Regions from separate parts of the Homo sapiens genome. Here all the other regions are linked to region 1. Evidence: promoter capture Hi-C in 16 types of primary human blood cells and fetal thymus (Javierre and others, 2016). All regions are on one chromosome and are shown on one strand. The core of a region is centred on a gene start or on the middle of the fragment in contact, and the rest is flanking DNA. Distances in the headings are between cores, read along the strand shown.

Region 1 (2,622 bases), core at 49-2,548:
TAACCCACTTCCAAGGGCAGGGACCACATCTTACTTTCTTCTGCCTTCAGCGAATTTTTTTGTTTTTTTTGAGACGGAGTTTTACTCTTGTTGCCCAGGCTGGAGTGCAATGGCGTTATCTCGGCTAACCACAACCTCCGCCTCCCGGGTTCAAGCGATTCTCCTGCCTCTGCCTCCCGACTAGCTGGGATTACAGGCATGCGCGACCGCGCCTTGCTAATTTTGTATTTTTAGTAGAGACGGGGTTTCTCCATTTTGGTCAGGCTGGCCTCGAACTCCTGACCTCAGGTGATCCGCCCACCTCGGCCTCCCAAAGTGCTGGGATTGGATCCTTGAGCCACGGTGCTCGGCCCAGTGAATGTTTATCTAAAGAATTCAGCCTAAGGTTTTCCAGCAGGCAAGCAGCTGAGTCAGAAGTTAGCGCTTAGATTCTGGCAGAGCTCTAATTCAAATTCAAAATTCTTAAATATCCTCACTTTAGTAGAGTTCTTTACAGTTTGCAAAACAATTCTCATAAAGCTACTCTTTATGTCCTGGGGCAGGAGTCGCAGAAAGGAAATGTTTTAAACCAGGAGCTAGAGAGGAACTAGAAAATCCTGGCATAGAGGTAACAGTCTTGAGAAGGGAGCCAACAGCAAACATGACCTTGCGCACCAGAGAAACTCCACCCTGGCACCTCGGACCCCCGCCCGCACAGTCTGCGGCGCACTGAGCACTCCCACCTCGAAGACTACAAATCCCAGCATGCCTCACAGTCAGTGGCAGGACGCAGGGCATGCCGGGACACGTAGTCCCACCCTAGCACGGGAAAAGGCCGGAAGGTCCCATGACGTCAGGAGGGCTCGGGAAAGGGGTTCGGAACCGGTCTAGGCTCAAGTTAAATCTCCCTCTAAAGAGCCAACACTGGTTTCTTTGGCGACTCGGTTTCTACTCTAAACAGGTCCCGCTCCACAGTCTGGGCGGGCCTGTGTGTGCGTTGAGTAGCCTCTAGCGTGAAAACTTCATGGTTAAAAGGGAAGTACCGGAGGCAAGAAATAGCTTTCGAGGCACTGGTTTGTTAGAGTAGTGGTACGTAGTGCGCCGCCCTGAACGGGGGCTGAGACGCTGCTTTTCCAGAAGTGCCAGTGAGGACGTGGCAAGACCGCCTCGGACGTACGCTTCCTCTACCTCAGCCCGTCGGGTTAGGGGCGCGGGAGGCGCAGAGGCTGCTGGGAACGCGCATGCGCTCAGCGCGGCGGGGAGTCCACCTTTAACGTCCGCGGGCGCGGGGTGTGTCGGGTGTCGACGGCGGCGCTTTGCGGCCGGTCGTGCGGGTCGGGCGCGGGCGGGCGCGGCGGCAGTGGCGCGCACAGGTGATTGACTGGCCAGCTGCCTGAAGGAGCGCCAGGTCCTCCTTGCTGGCAGGTGGCGAAGCCCATTGGGGCGGCGGTGCAGACCGCGGCGGCGGCTGCGGCGGTCTGGCTCGGGAGGCGTTCCTGGGGCCAAGGCCATGGCCCCGCGGCTGCAGCTGGAGAAGGCGGCCTGGCGCTGGGCGGAGACGGTGCGGCCCGAGGAGGTGTCGCAGGAGCACATCGAGACCGCTTACCGCATCTGGCTGGAGCCCTGCATTCGCGGCGTGTGCAGGTGAGGCCCGCGCACCGCGCCTCGCGGGCTCCTCGCGCCGGACCTTGGAAAGCCCGGGCGGGGTAGGGGAAAGGAAGACGGCAGCCCTTTGCGTGCATTTGGGAGGCGCGGAGCCGAGCGAGGTGGAGTTTCCCCCTTTGCGCCGTCTGCGCGACCTGGGAAACGCAGGCTTCCCGGGCTGTGCGCGGAGGTGATGCTGGCCAAAGCACTTTAGGAAGGTTTGGGTTCCCATCCAGAAGATGGCGGTGGAGATGAAGGCAGGAGCTGAGAGCTTAGCAAGCGTTGATGGTTGGGGTATCTTGGCCACAGCACGGCTCTTTCGTTTGTAAAAAGGAACTTTTTGGAAGTGAGCTTCATCACAGTGTATCTTGTTGGTGTTGACACCGAAGGCCTGATCATCTTAGTATTATTTTTGTAGAGGGCAGCTTTAGAAAAAACTGTGGTCAGCCTACGTCATCGATACCCTGCACCCCCGTTGGCCTTCCCTCACTCGTTAATCTAGTATTTTTTTTAAGCCTTTCTTTGGTCGTTCTGGTTCGACACCAGTTTACCGAGTACCAAGTTTAAGCTGTGATAGTGCTGTCCTTCACGTCTGCGCCGCCCTTGAACTTTACCTTTCCTTAACCCCCTCATATAGATTGAATCCTTAGGCTTTGCTCCCGTTTATTCCCTTTTTTCCACCTTGTAACGCGGGAACTATAGTTTTTGTTTCAGAATGTTGTTGAAATTGACTTGGCCAAGCCGGGCATGCTCAGTAGCCGTCTTTCGGCAGGCATTTAGGAAATGCTTTCTGGAGTTTTTACATTCCGCTGGGGGATCCGGAAGGAATGGAAGTCATGGTCTCTGGCTTTGGAGCTTAAAGTCTAGTATGAGAAGTGAAATAAGTTAGGGAGTTTCTATAAAGCAAACGAATAAGTCCAAGCTCTGGGCGTCTGTCTCACAAGGAGGGTAAATCTGACTTTAACAGTAAGTTCTGGAATGTTTGAAGTCTGTGTATAA
Region 2 (2,622 bases), core at 101-2,600, 490 kb after region 1:
CGTGTTTATATTTCTCGTTTCTGCTCACCACAGGCCTTTGATTTACAAGGGTGGAGTTTCCAGAGCTGGGCACTGTTGCACCTTCATCTGGCTGTCATCACTTCCTCTGTGCAGCTGGGGCACCGGGGACTGAGGACGGGGCAGTCCACAGGGAGCTGTGGTTCCACCCCTTCACTCTTGGTTTCTGCCAGGCCCTCCTCTTGAACACTAGACCCAGATTCAACCCAGATTTCTCCTCCACGGCTGCACAGTGCCAGGAAGGGAACTGAGAAGACCAAAGTGGAGGTTCTTTACCTTCCCCAACACACTCGGGGCCAGGCGTGGCACCCACAACTGCAAATGAGACAATTAGGGAGAATAAGTGCTGGCTGCCCTGTCAGCCCAGAGCCTCAGTCTGCCCAGGGCACCCAGACTCTGTGAGGTTCCCACCTGAAGAAGCAGTTCCATCTTCCACAAGGAGCACAGGACCAAGAGTCCAGGACCCAGGTTCGAGGCCCAGCTCTACCACTTTCTCGCCGCGGGGCTCGGGTTCTCTGGAGGCAGCGTAATGGAGTCAGTGGGTTTGGCAAGGGGAAGATTCGCATTATGGCTCCCTCAGTCTCCAGGCAGGTGACTCAGGGCTGGGGGGAGGTCCTTTCTCCTCTCTGACCCTTGGTCATCTCATTTGTAAAGCGGAGGTGATGATTCTCATCTCAGGGACGAGGCACTGTGGGGTTAGGAGAGAATTTGTCAAGTGGCATGGTTGGTTTTTGGTCTGTCTAGGCCCCTCCCCCTCTCTGTAAGCTGGAAGCGGTACTTGTGAGGCTGAGGCTCTAGGTGGGTGTGGGGAGCCATTGGGGTAGTGAATGGAAGGCCCTGGGCGAAGGGCCCCAGGCAGCTGTTGAAATGTCACTCACCCACTGTGGACTTCCCACCAAGCAGAGCCCGCCAAGCCTTTCCCGTCTGAGGTGGGTTCAGTTTCACTACCGGGCTGAGGCAGGCATCTCAGGAAGGGGCCCTCGGCTTTTGTGTGCTGAAAAATAACCAGGCTCCATCTCTGCTGATTTCTGCTTGGGAGTTCCGTGAGCTTCCTGCATCATCTGTCCACAGACAGGCTGCCGCAGGGTGGACATCAGAGTCCCTGGGGTGGCTTCCGGCCTCCCTCCCTTGCCTCCCGCCTTTGCTCAAACATCTGTAGAGGCTCCAGCCCCAGACTAAGCCCTTAAGGAGACAGGGTCCCGTGAGACCCAGCCTCTGCCATCAGGGTTCTCCTGTCTAAAATGCTGTGTGCCTCAGTAAAAGGCAGCATGGGGTAGGGTGGCTGTGTGGGGACACAGAGCCAGGGACCAAATGCTGTCTGGGGTCCCTGGAGGGTGGTCAGGAGAGCTTGCCAGAAGGGGGAAATCTCTGAAATGAGACAGAAGGAGGAGGAGCCATCGCTTAACCACACCTGGGCGAGTTAACTTCCCCAAGCCTCAGTTTCATTCTCTGTAAAAGGAACCAGTGATACCTGCTTCTGAGGGAAGGGTGAGAAGCTTAAAAGAGATGGTATAAAAGAACTGACAAATCCCGTACACCAGCCGGGTGAATCCCTTACACCACCCACATGCCCCGGGGAGATGTTCTGTGAACTGAACTTCTTTTTCAAAAGTCTTTTCCTCTGGCAATCGACACCTGGTAACGTAGTGTAACCAAGTGTCCTGTTCTAGAAAAAGCCCAGCTGCAACCCAGCAGTAAGTGAAGCAGCCTCAGAGTCCCCTCTCTCTCTGGGATGGGTAATGGAAACTCCTCCACCCAGTGGGAGTGAGGCAGAAGTCTCCAGAATTCAGAGCTTTCCCATGCACCCTGCCTCCCCAGGGCCTGTGACCTTTAGATGTGTTCCCTGTTTCTGTAGGCATTATGAAGTTAGATGCAGGAGAGTTCTTGAGAACTTGAAGGCACTTCCCCTCTACTTGTCCCCCCTTTGATTTTAACAACCGTTTGTTGAGCACCTACTCTGTGCCGGGTGATGGAGAGTCTCTGTTGGACAGGCCAGACAAGGTCCCAGCCCCAGTAAAGCTGTGGATTCTGGAGAGGGACAGAGACAGTGATGATAAAGACATGGAAACAAAACAGTCTGCAACAAGTACTGTAAAGGAAAACAAACAGGATGCTGTAACAGAGAATTTGGGGGACTGCTTAGGGTTCCTGGGACATTTGAGGAGCTGGTAGGCTGAGATCTGAAGTTGGAGCTGACCATGGGAAGAGTAGAGAGGAGGAAAAAATGTTCCAGATAGAGACAACAGCAGCTACAAAGGTCTTGGGGGAAGAAGAAACTTGTAGAAACTGAGGAGTTGTGTGAGGAGGTTGGTGGGGGAGGGGGCGCTGGCAGCACAAGATGAGGGCCCAGAGTGGGCAGGGGCCATGGGGCCTGGTGAAGGGTTTGGATTTCATTCCAGGACAGTGGAGGGTTTTTAAGCAAGGGAGTGGTAATATCAGAATTTTTTTTTATTTTATTTATTTACTCAGACAAGATCTTGTTGTGTCGTCCACGCTGGAGTGCAGTGGTGCAATCACAGCTCACTGTAGCCGCCACCTCCTGGCTTCAAGCGATTCTCCCACCTAAGCCTCCCAAGTAGCTGGGACTACAGGCGCATACCACCA
Region 3 (2,622 bases), core at 76-2,575, 330 kb before region 1:
CTCCCCTCCACTGTGCCCTCAAGGGTCACAGCTCTGTACAGCTCACCCAGTGAAGCAGCCACTTGCTGGCAAGCAAGAGATTCTCAACCTTTAACCTATGTCCCCTGCCTTTGAGAGACAAACCCCTGCCTTGTTAAATCTGTCATTTCTTTTTGTTTTTTTTTTTTGAGACGGAGTCTCACTCTGTTACCCAGGCTGGAGTGCAGTGGCCCGATCTCGGCTCACTGCAAGCTCCGCCTCCCAGGTTCACGCCATTCTCCTGCCTCAGCCTCCCGAGTAGCTGGGACTACAGGCACCTGCCACCACACCCGGCTAATTTTTTTGTGTGTTTTTAGTAGAGACAGGGTTTCACCATGCTAGCCAGGATGGTCTTGATCTCCTGACTTTGTGATCCGCCCACCTCGGCCTCCCAAAGTGCTGGGACTACAGGCGTGAGCCACCACGCCCGGCCTAATCTGTCATTTCAAAATAAATCTTGTGACTAAAAACAAATCAACACAATAGTGATTTTAAAATAAGCATTTCCTTTTTGTTGTTTTTTTTCTATTATTCTCATCTGATAAAATAAGCATTTCAAATTCTACACATCATTTGTCTACCAGCTATTCTATTACTGCCCCCAAGGGGAGCTGGTAGTACAAGTTCTGGAGTCAAAAGTTCAAGGCTGGCTGGCTTGTTCAAGTTCAAGGCACGGTGGCTCATGCCTGTAGTCCCAGCACTTTGGGAGGCCGAGGCAGGAGGATCACGAGCTCTGGAGTTTGAGACCAACCTGGCCAACATGGTGAAACCCCGTCTCTACTAAAAATACAAAAAAATTAGCCAGGCATGGTGGCACAGGCCTATAATCCCAGCTACTCAGGAGGCTGAGGCAGGAGAATCGCTTGAACTGGAGAAACAGAGGTTGCAGTGAGCTGAGACCACAACAATGCACTCCAGCCTAGGCAACAGGGCGAGACTCCGTCTCAAAAAAAAAAAAAAAAAAAGTTCAAGGCTACAGTGAGCTATGATTGCACCACTACACTTCAGCCTGGGTGACAGAGTGAGAATCTGTCTTTATAATTTTTTTTTTTTAATTTTACTGTAGAGACAGTGTTTCACCATGTTGCCAGGATGGCCTAACAGGTGTTAGCCATCATGCCCAGCCACACCTTACCACTTTTCTATAGAAATAAATACTGAACACCACTTTTCTTTTAACTGCCAGTTGACTAATTTCAGCTTAAGTAAACTAATAATTTAGTTATTGACATGTAAGGGACTTAATGTCAACTCTATTCTAGACATTTTTACATTTTCTGTAAGGCAGTTAGCCACAACAGCCCACCAATAGCACCAGCTGGATCTCAGTTACAAGAAAAAACAGCTCAGAACATTCTCAAAAATAATTTTTTTTTAAGTTGTGGAGTCAAATAACCCCAGCTCTACCATGGACTGGCTGTGAACCTTGGGCAAGTCATTAACTTGTTTCCTCAGTTATAAACTGGGAATGAAAAGAGTAGCCGTCTCACAGAGCTATCATGAAGATACAGCATGTAAAACCCTTAGCACATGGCTGGTCACACAGCCAGGGCTCAGTCATTAGCTATTACGGCTTTTAACATCAGAGAATGTTCCTGCCCCCACTTCCAATCCTGAGAATGCTGAGCCAGTAGATGTTTAAGAGTAGGCTCCCCAAGACTTCAGTTGGGCAGAGGACACACTTTAAAGAAAAAAGGGACTGATGCTCCTTTGACAGACCTGTGCTTCCCAAGGTACAAGCCACATGGTGTCATACATACTACTGCTTACACATGCATACCCCCCCACTAAACTGTGAGCACTCTCTGGGTGGGATCTGGAACTTCTATTTCATATCGAGGGTGGGAAGGATGCACTGAAGATCAAATGAACTGAGACATCCATGTTAGGGGAGAAAACATAACCATCTACTGACCATCAGAGAGGTGCAAGATAGACCGACTCACTGATGAACGGCCACACAAGAGTGGGCTCCAGCCCTTTTCCAAAATGCTACAGGTCTATGACTGTTACTCTGGACTCTTCCTTCTCCAGAATAAAGAAGTCAAGGGAACAATTAAACTATCTCTACCCATTACTATCCCTGGACTTCAAGGCCCCTTAGTGCCCCTTTCAGGGCCCCAGAGAAGAGCCTCAGCCTGGGTCCACAACCCATGGTCCCTGTGCAAGGCCTCCCTGGAGGGCCAGCCCACACGGCTTTGTTATAGATGACGGCCTGGACAGCTATCTCACCCACTGTCTTCTAGTCTCCTCATCTCCAAGTTCCTGAAGCCCCGGCCAAAGACAACAGTGTGGACTTGTTTTTTTGGGGCCCAAAGTAGAAGGCTTCTCAGCACCTGGGAGCAGCTGGAAGTTGGAACTCAGGACTCATCGCTGCTGGTCTCCCCATCCTGTGCCAAGTGCATCTGTAAACAAGCCTTCTCAGTGGTTCCCTGCAGCTGCTCCCCAAACGGGTCAAAAGGAAGAGAAACAGGCTAGAATTAGGGCAGCCCATGGCTTGCAAGTGAGAACTGAGCCAGGCAGGGCCTGGTCTGAAAGGTGGTCCCTGGATACAGCCAGGCCTGCACTGCTGGCCCTGTGCCCAAAGCCTTAGATGGGTTCAAC
Region 4 (2,622 bases), core at 34-2,533, 310 kb before region 1:
CCTTGTGGCATAAAGTCCAGCTTGAAGAACATCGCTTTAACTATAAAATCTATTTCTGGCCGGGCGCGGTGGCTCACGCCTGTAATCCCAGCACTTTGGGAGGCCGAGGCGGGCGGATCACGAGGTCAGGAGATCGAGACCATTCTGGCTAACACGGTGAAACCCCGTCTCTACTAAAAATACAAAAAATTAGCCGGGCGTGGTAGCGGGCGCCGGTAGTCCCAGCTACTCGGGAGGCTGAGGCAGGAGAATGGCGTGAACCCGGGAGGCGGAGCTTGCAGTGAGCCGAGATCGCGCCACTGCACTCCAGCCTGGGCGACAGAGCGAGACTCCGTCTCAAAAAAAAAAAAAAAAAAAAATCTATTTCTAGGATGTTCAGTAAAACACTTATAAATAGCAATAATATATTAACATCGTATTAAATACTATAAATTCTGACACAAACTAAGCCTGTAAGGACTATTTTCAATAACCCTTTCCAGCCTCTAAATCATACTCCCTGGAGAATATCACTCACCTTCTAAGCCACGACTATAAGCAAGTTTGTTACGTCAAATAGAAAACAATATTTAAATGGAAAACCTAAGCTGCATCCACTTGCTACCCAAGTTCTTCTGACATGCAGAAATCAATCTGAAAATATTTAAGAAAACATTAGCTTCAATCAATCCCCATCATCCTTGTTCTTCTGATACACGGATAATTCGTTGACACAACTGTATGACCTGCTTTATTTCACTTACTCATTTATAAAATAATATACCCATCCAATGACTACTTCTAGAGCCATATCATGTCAAGCATTGCTTTAGGACAAAGATATAGCAATAGTCAAGGACCTATACGCCCCTGACTACACTAAGGATACATATGTCCCTGCTTTCCAGGGTATCACATGATCCAGGTATCTCTCCCTAGTATAGTCAACAAGGAATAAATAAGATGCATTTCTTGGTTAGAACTGTTAAAGCTTACATCTGCCTCTTCCTAACCCCTTCTCAACCAACCCAGCTTAATTCTAGCACAGTATGCAAATCATGCCAAACATGACTCCATGCAGAGAACTATCAAAATGAGGCCACAGTGTACCAACCTTAACTGATTTTAAGGGTTCTTAGTTTCTAAGATTCTCATGCAGATCAGTATAATGTCCTAAAGGTAAATAAACCTTTCTTGCTACCTAAAGAAAATGTATCCCATATTCAGATTCGCAGCACAGAACCTGTATTCTGATAGTAGTAGTTTGAGATAACCAACTAGGTGTGGTGATTCCCAAACTTGGCTACATTTTAGAAATGCCTGGAAAACTTAAAAATCACATTGTTCAAGCTGCACTCCAGTTGGAGAACCACTGATGCAGAAAACTTGGGGGAAAATGAGCTGCTTTTCAATGATCTATGGATTAAAGGTACACTGACATTTCCTTCCACCATGAGCAGTGAGCTTCCTGAACACTGCTTCACTAAGAATTATTATGGACCTACTTGGTATTTAAGGGAAGGGTCAAACTTAGAGGAGAAAGCACAAACCTGAACATATAGAGGGCTAAATATTATCTCAAACTAAAATGCCAGAAAATAAAAATAATAAAGCTTTAAAATTTTATCCCAAAGTTTGTTAGAAATTGATGTTATCAAGAGTCAAATTCCCACTCCTCAATATCTGAAAAGTAAGAGACGGAGGGAAAATAACAACCCTCAGGCTGGCTTGTGAAGGGTTTTTGTTTGTTTAATACATCTGAAAAGAATGCATATACAAAGAATTGAGACATGAGAAAGCATTGGTTCAACACTAATGCATCTACAAGAATTAGGTTTGGGAAGGTGGGAAAGATTACCTCAACATTTTTAAAAATTGGAAACTGCAACCAAAATAAGCTGAAAAAATCCCTATTAACACTTAAGAAGAGTCTGCATTAAGAGTCTTTCCATGATTTTTATTAAACTAGAGAGCCTCACCTGGCTGCTCTAGGGTTCCTCATATGCAAAACAGAAATAAGGGGATTCCCCTGACTGGTCCCCATGTTGTTAAGTGTTCTCCCCACCCCCACCCTACCCCCAGCTTCTTAATGAAGCAGGCCTCCATCCTCCTAACTTGAGAGGATGTGAATCATTCCACAGATGTCTGTCTTCTAGCACCACCCCTCGTATTTCCTCTACATAACAGGTCTTCAGCTGCATTCTAGGAACACCATATACTACTGAGCTGCAAATCTATGCTAAGCATATAAGACAATGACTGAAAGGGAAAAAAATTTTTTTAATTACAAACTCAATTCATTTGGTGCATTTCAAAGGTGCAATACTTTTCTTCATTTATCAGTGAAAGAAGTTAGAAATTAACTTCCCAAAAAAATCAGCAAATGGCAAACAAATGTCCTTGAAAGTCACAGTCACATATAGTGCGTCCTAGAAAAGAGGAGGGGCAAGATGGGCTCCACCCACTTTCATGAGTTTCATCAAATACTGGATCTACTCAAGGGTGGAGAGAAAAGGCAACTTTCAAAAAGGAGTATGTTATTAAATGAGGCATTTACTATACTCCTTCCTAAGAGCACCAGATGGGGAACATGTTTTCTAAACTAGATCTAGGAAGTGGAATGTGGAATCAATCCGTCCTCCT
Region 5 (2,622 bases), core at 39-2,538, 290 kb before region 1:
GGTGAAGTGGCACACACCTGTAGTCCCAGTTACCAGGGAGGCTGAGGTGGGAGGATTGCTTGAGTCCAAGGCTGCAGTTGGCTATGATTGTGCCACTGCCCTCCAGGCTGGATGACAGAGCAAGACCCTGTCTCAAATATTTTTTTTAAAATGATTCTGCCAATCATAAGGAAATAAAATTGTGAAATAAGGTATATCTTCCTTCTGTCCTTCCTGGCATCTACCCCTCCAATACCCATATCTTCTAGGTTTTTTATTTTTCTTTTTTTTTTTTTGAGACAGAGTTTTGCTCTGTCACCCAGGCTGGAGTGCAATGGCGTGATCTCGGCTCACTGCAACCTCCGCCTCCAGGGTTCAAGCGATTCTCCCACCTCAGCCTCCCAAGTAGCTGGGATTACAGGCACGCACCACCATGTCTGGCTAATTTTTGTATTTTTTTAGTAGAGACGGGGTTTCGCCACATTGGCCAGGCTGGTCTCAAAATCCTGACCTCAGGTGATCCACCCACCTCAGCCTCCCAAAGTGCTGGGATTACAGGCACGAGCCATTGCACCTGGCCTCTTCCAGGTTCTTAACACTATGGGAATTCAAATATCCTTTAAGAATCTCAGAGCTATAGCACCTGAAATTTTAAGTCCACACACTACAGATTTTAAAAGGTTATGGAACCCTCTCTATGGTATCATTATGATTGGCTGGCTGCCATCTAAACTCCACCAGACAATCCCTGAGCAAACGATCTGTATGGAGGAAGGGGATACTCCCAGCTACAAATGCCCTATTTTCCCGTGCCCCATGGTTCATTCTAGGCACAGAGAGACAGCAACCTTAAGATTTGAGATTAAATATTTGCTAGTAAGTTTTACAAAAAATTTATATTCTCAATAAGATTACACCTCTTTTAAAACTATGTCAAGTATTAATAGTAACTGTGAATAAAAGGCAAGTCAAATTTTTGGTAATACACCAAATATTTGGCAATATTTGGTTTCCGTCCCCACTTCCTAGCAGAGAGCTCCTAAAAACCCTAGGAATTTCCTGAGTGCTGAGTGTCTCTTGTTTTTCATAACAAATTCACACCTGAATTTATGTTAATAAAGTGACAGGGTGGCGGTGGAAGGGATGCTAGGAAGCCTCAGGATGGGGCTGGTCACCAGAAAGGCAAAGTGACTAGAGGGATGTAACTTTCAGCCCCATGCACCAACCTCCAGAGAGGGGAGGAGGGCTAGAAACTGAGCTCTATGAAAACTCCAGAACAGAAGATTTGGAGAGCTTCCAGGTCTGTGAACATTTCAAGGTGAGGGGAAAGCAGGTCACCTGAATCCCTCCCCACCCACAACCGTGCCCTATGTATCTCTTCCATTTGGCTGTTCGTGAGTTGTACCCTTTATGACAAAGGCATAAAGGTAAGTAAAACGGCCAGGCACGGTGGTTCAAGCCTGTAATCCCAGCACTTTGGGAGGCCGAGGCGGGCAGATCATGAGGTCAGGAGATCGAGACCATTCTGGCTAACATGGCGAAACCCCGACTCTACTAAAAATACAAAAAATTAGCCAGGCGTGGTGGCAGGCGCCTGTAGTTCCAGCTACTCGGGAGGCTGAGGCAGGAGAATGGCATGAACCTGGGAGGCAGAGCTTGCAGTGAGCTGAGATCACGCCACTGTACTCCAGCCTGGGCAACAGAGCGAGACTCCATCCCAAAAAAAAAAAAAAAAAAAAAAAAGGTAAGTAAAACGTTTTCCTGAGTTCTATGAGTTGTTCTAGCTAATAATCAAACCTAAGAAGGGCCATGGGAATCCCAAAATTTGTAGTCTACTGGGCAGAGGTATAGGTAGCCTAGGCACTGCATTTGTAGCTGCTGCCTAAAGTGAGGGCAGTCTTCCAAGACTGAGCCCTTAAGCTGTGGGGTGGGAGTATCAGAATTAAACTGTTAGTATCAGAACTGAATTTTCTTTTTCTGACACCACATTCACTCTAATCCAAAACACACTAAAAGTAAAGTTGCCTTCATGTGAAATACGTTTGCCCCTGAAGTAACCCATTTTCATACTTAGGATACAAGAAAGAAGAGGCACTACAGGAATCAAGAGAATGACCCAATTTCACAATCTTCCTTATCAGTTCAACAGAAGGACTAGTCTGGTTGTAGGATTAAACAGAATAAAATCAAAACTACTTGTCTCTCCTGTCAAATCCAGCCACTTTGGAAAATGCAGCTTATATAACCTTCTGCTGTAAGTTATAGTAGCATATCTAACGTACAATTTTTTAAACACCTACCCATGCATGTGATTTTTAGGCAACCAAAAGTACTCAAACCACAGCAATGTATTCCATGCATTCACACACGTATGCAAGTGTGCTAACAAACTGTCTTGTTTGCAGAACTTCTTGTTTGCTTCTATATCACAGAAGACATGTAACAAAAAGCATACAGCTGGCCTTATATGTTTGTTAGAAATGCTTGTTCCGACCGGGTGCGGTGGCTCACACCTGTAATCCCAGCACTTTGGGAGGCCGAGGCGGATGGATCACGAGGTCAGGAGATCGAGACCATCCTGGCTAACATGGTGAAACCCCGACGCTACTAAAAATACAAAAAAATTAGCCGGGCGTGGTGGCA

Evidence for each region. The method cuts DNA at HindIII sites, captures the fragments that hold promoters and counts their contacts. A CHiCAGO score of 5 or more calls a contact.
Region 2: a contact is called between the fragment with the promoter of ECE1-AS1 here and the fragment with the promoter of USP48 in region 1, in 9 of 17 cell types (total B cells, neutrophils, fetal thymus and 6 more). The highest score is 12.1, in total B cells.
Region 3: a fragment that was not itself captured here is called in contact with the fragment with the promoter of USP48 in region 1 in 4 of 17 cell types (naive CD8 T cells, non-activated CD4 T cells, activated CD4 T cells and 1 more); the score reaches 6.1 in naive CD8 T cells.
Region 4: a contact is called between a fragment that was not itself captured here and the fragment with the promoter of USP48 in region 1, in 7 of 17 cell types (non-activated CD4 T cells, activated CD4 T cells, naive CD4 T cells and 4 more). The highest score is 7.2, in non-activated CD4 T cells.
Region 5: a contact is called between a fragment that was not itself captured here and the fragment with the promoter of USP48 in region 1, in 3 of 17 cell types (total CD4 T cells, naive CD4 T cells and monocytes). The highest score is 5.7, in total CD4 T cells.

Annotation. Positions count from the first base shown.
Region 1 is chr1:21,781,825-21,784,446 of GRCh38, reverse strand. It overlaps USP48 (ubiquitin specific peptidase 48), which reads left to right and starts at 1,298. Exons shown (of 27, transcript NM_032236.8): 1 at 1,298-1,623. The coding sequence starts at 1,490. RefSeq lists enhancers at 915-964, 710-1,480, 1,905-2,004, 1,481-2,252, 2,565-2,614 and a silencer at 1,175-1,534. The HindIII fragment of the contact is 2,827 bases long and covers 1-2,622 here.
Region 2 is chr1:21,292,018-21,294,639 of GRCh38, reverse strand. It overlaps ECE1-AS1 (ECE1 antisense RNA 1), which reads right to left and starts at 1,350. Exons shown (of 3, transcript NR_038404.1): 1 at 897-1,350; 2 at 430-706. It also overlaps a transcript of ECE1 not described here. RefSeq lists enhancers at 1-472, 1,314-1,403. The HindIII fragment of the contact is 8,029 bases long and covers 1-1,516 here.
Region 3 is chr1:22,108,648-22,111,269 of GRCh38, reverse strand. No RefSeq gene overlaps it. Among named protein-coding and RNA genes, the nearest start is that of WNT4, 33 kb to the left of the region's middle. The HindIII fragment of the contact is 3,822 bases long and covers 1-2,622 here.
Region 4 is chr1:22,092,032-22,094,653 of GRCh38, reverse strand. CDC42 (cell division cycle 42) reads right to left here. Exons shown (of 6, transcript NM_001791.4): 6 at 1-2,622. Among named protein-coding and RNA genes, the nearest start is that of CDC42, 41 kb to the right of the region's middle. The HindIII fragment of the contact is 622 bases long and covers 973-1,594 here.
Region 5 is chr1:22,071,192-22,073,813 of GRCh38, reverse strand. All of the region lies in intron 1 of CDC42 (cell division cycle 42), which reads right to left. Among named protein-coding and RNA genes, the nearest start is that of CDC42, 20 kb to the right of the region's middle. The HindIII fragment of the contact is 6,953 bases long and covers 1-2,622 here.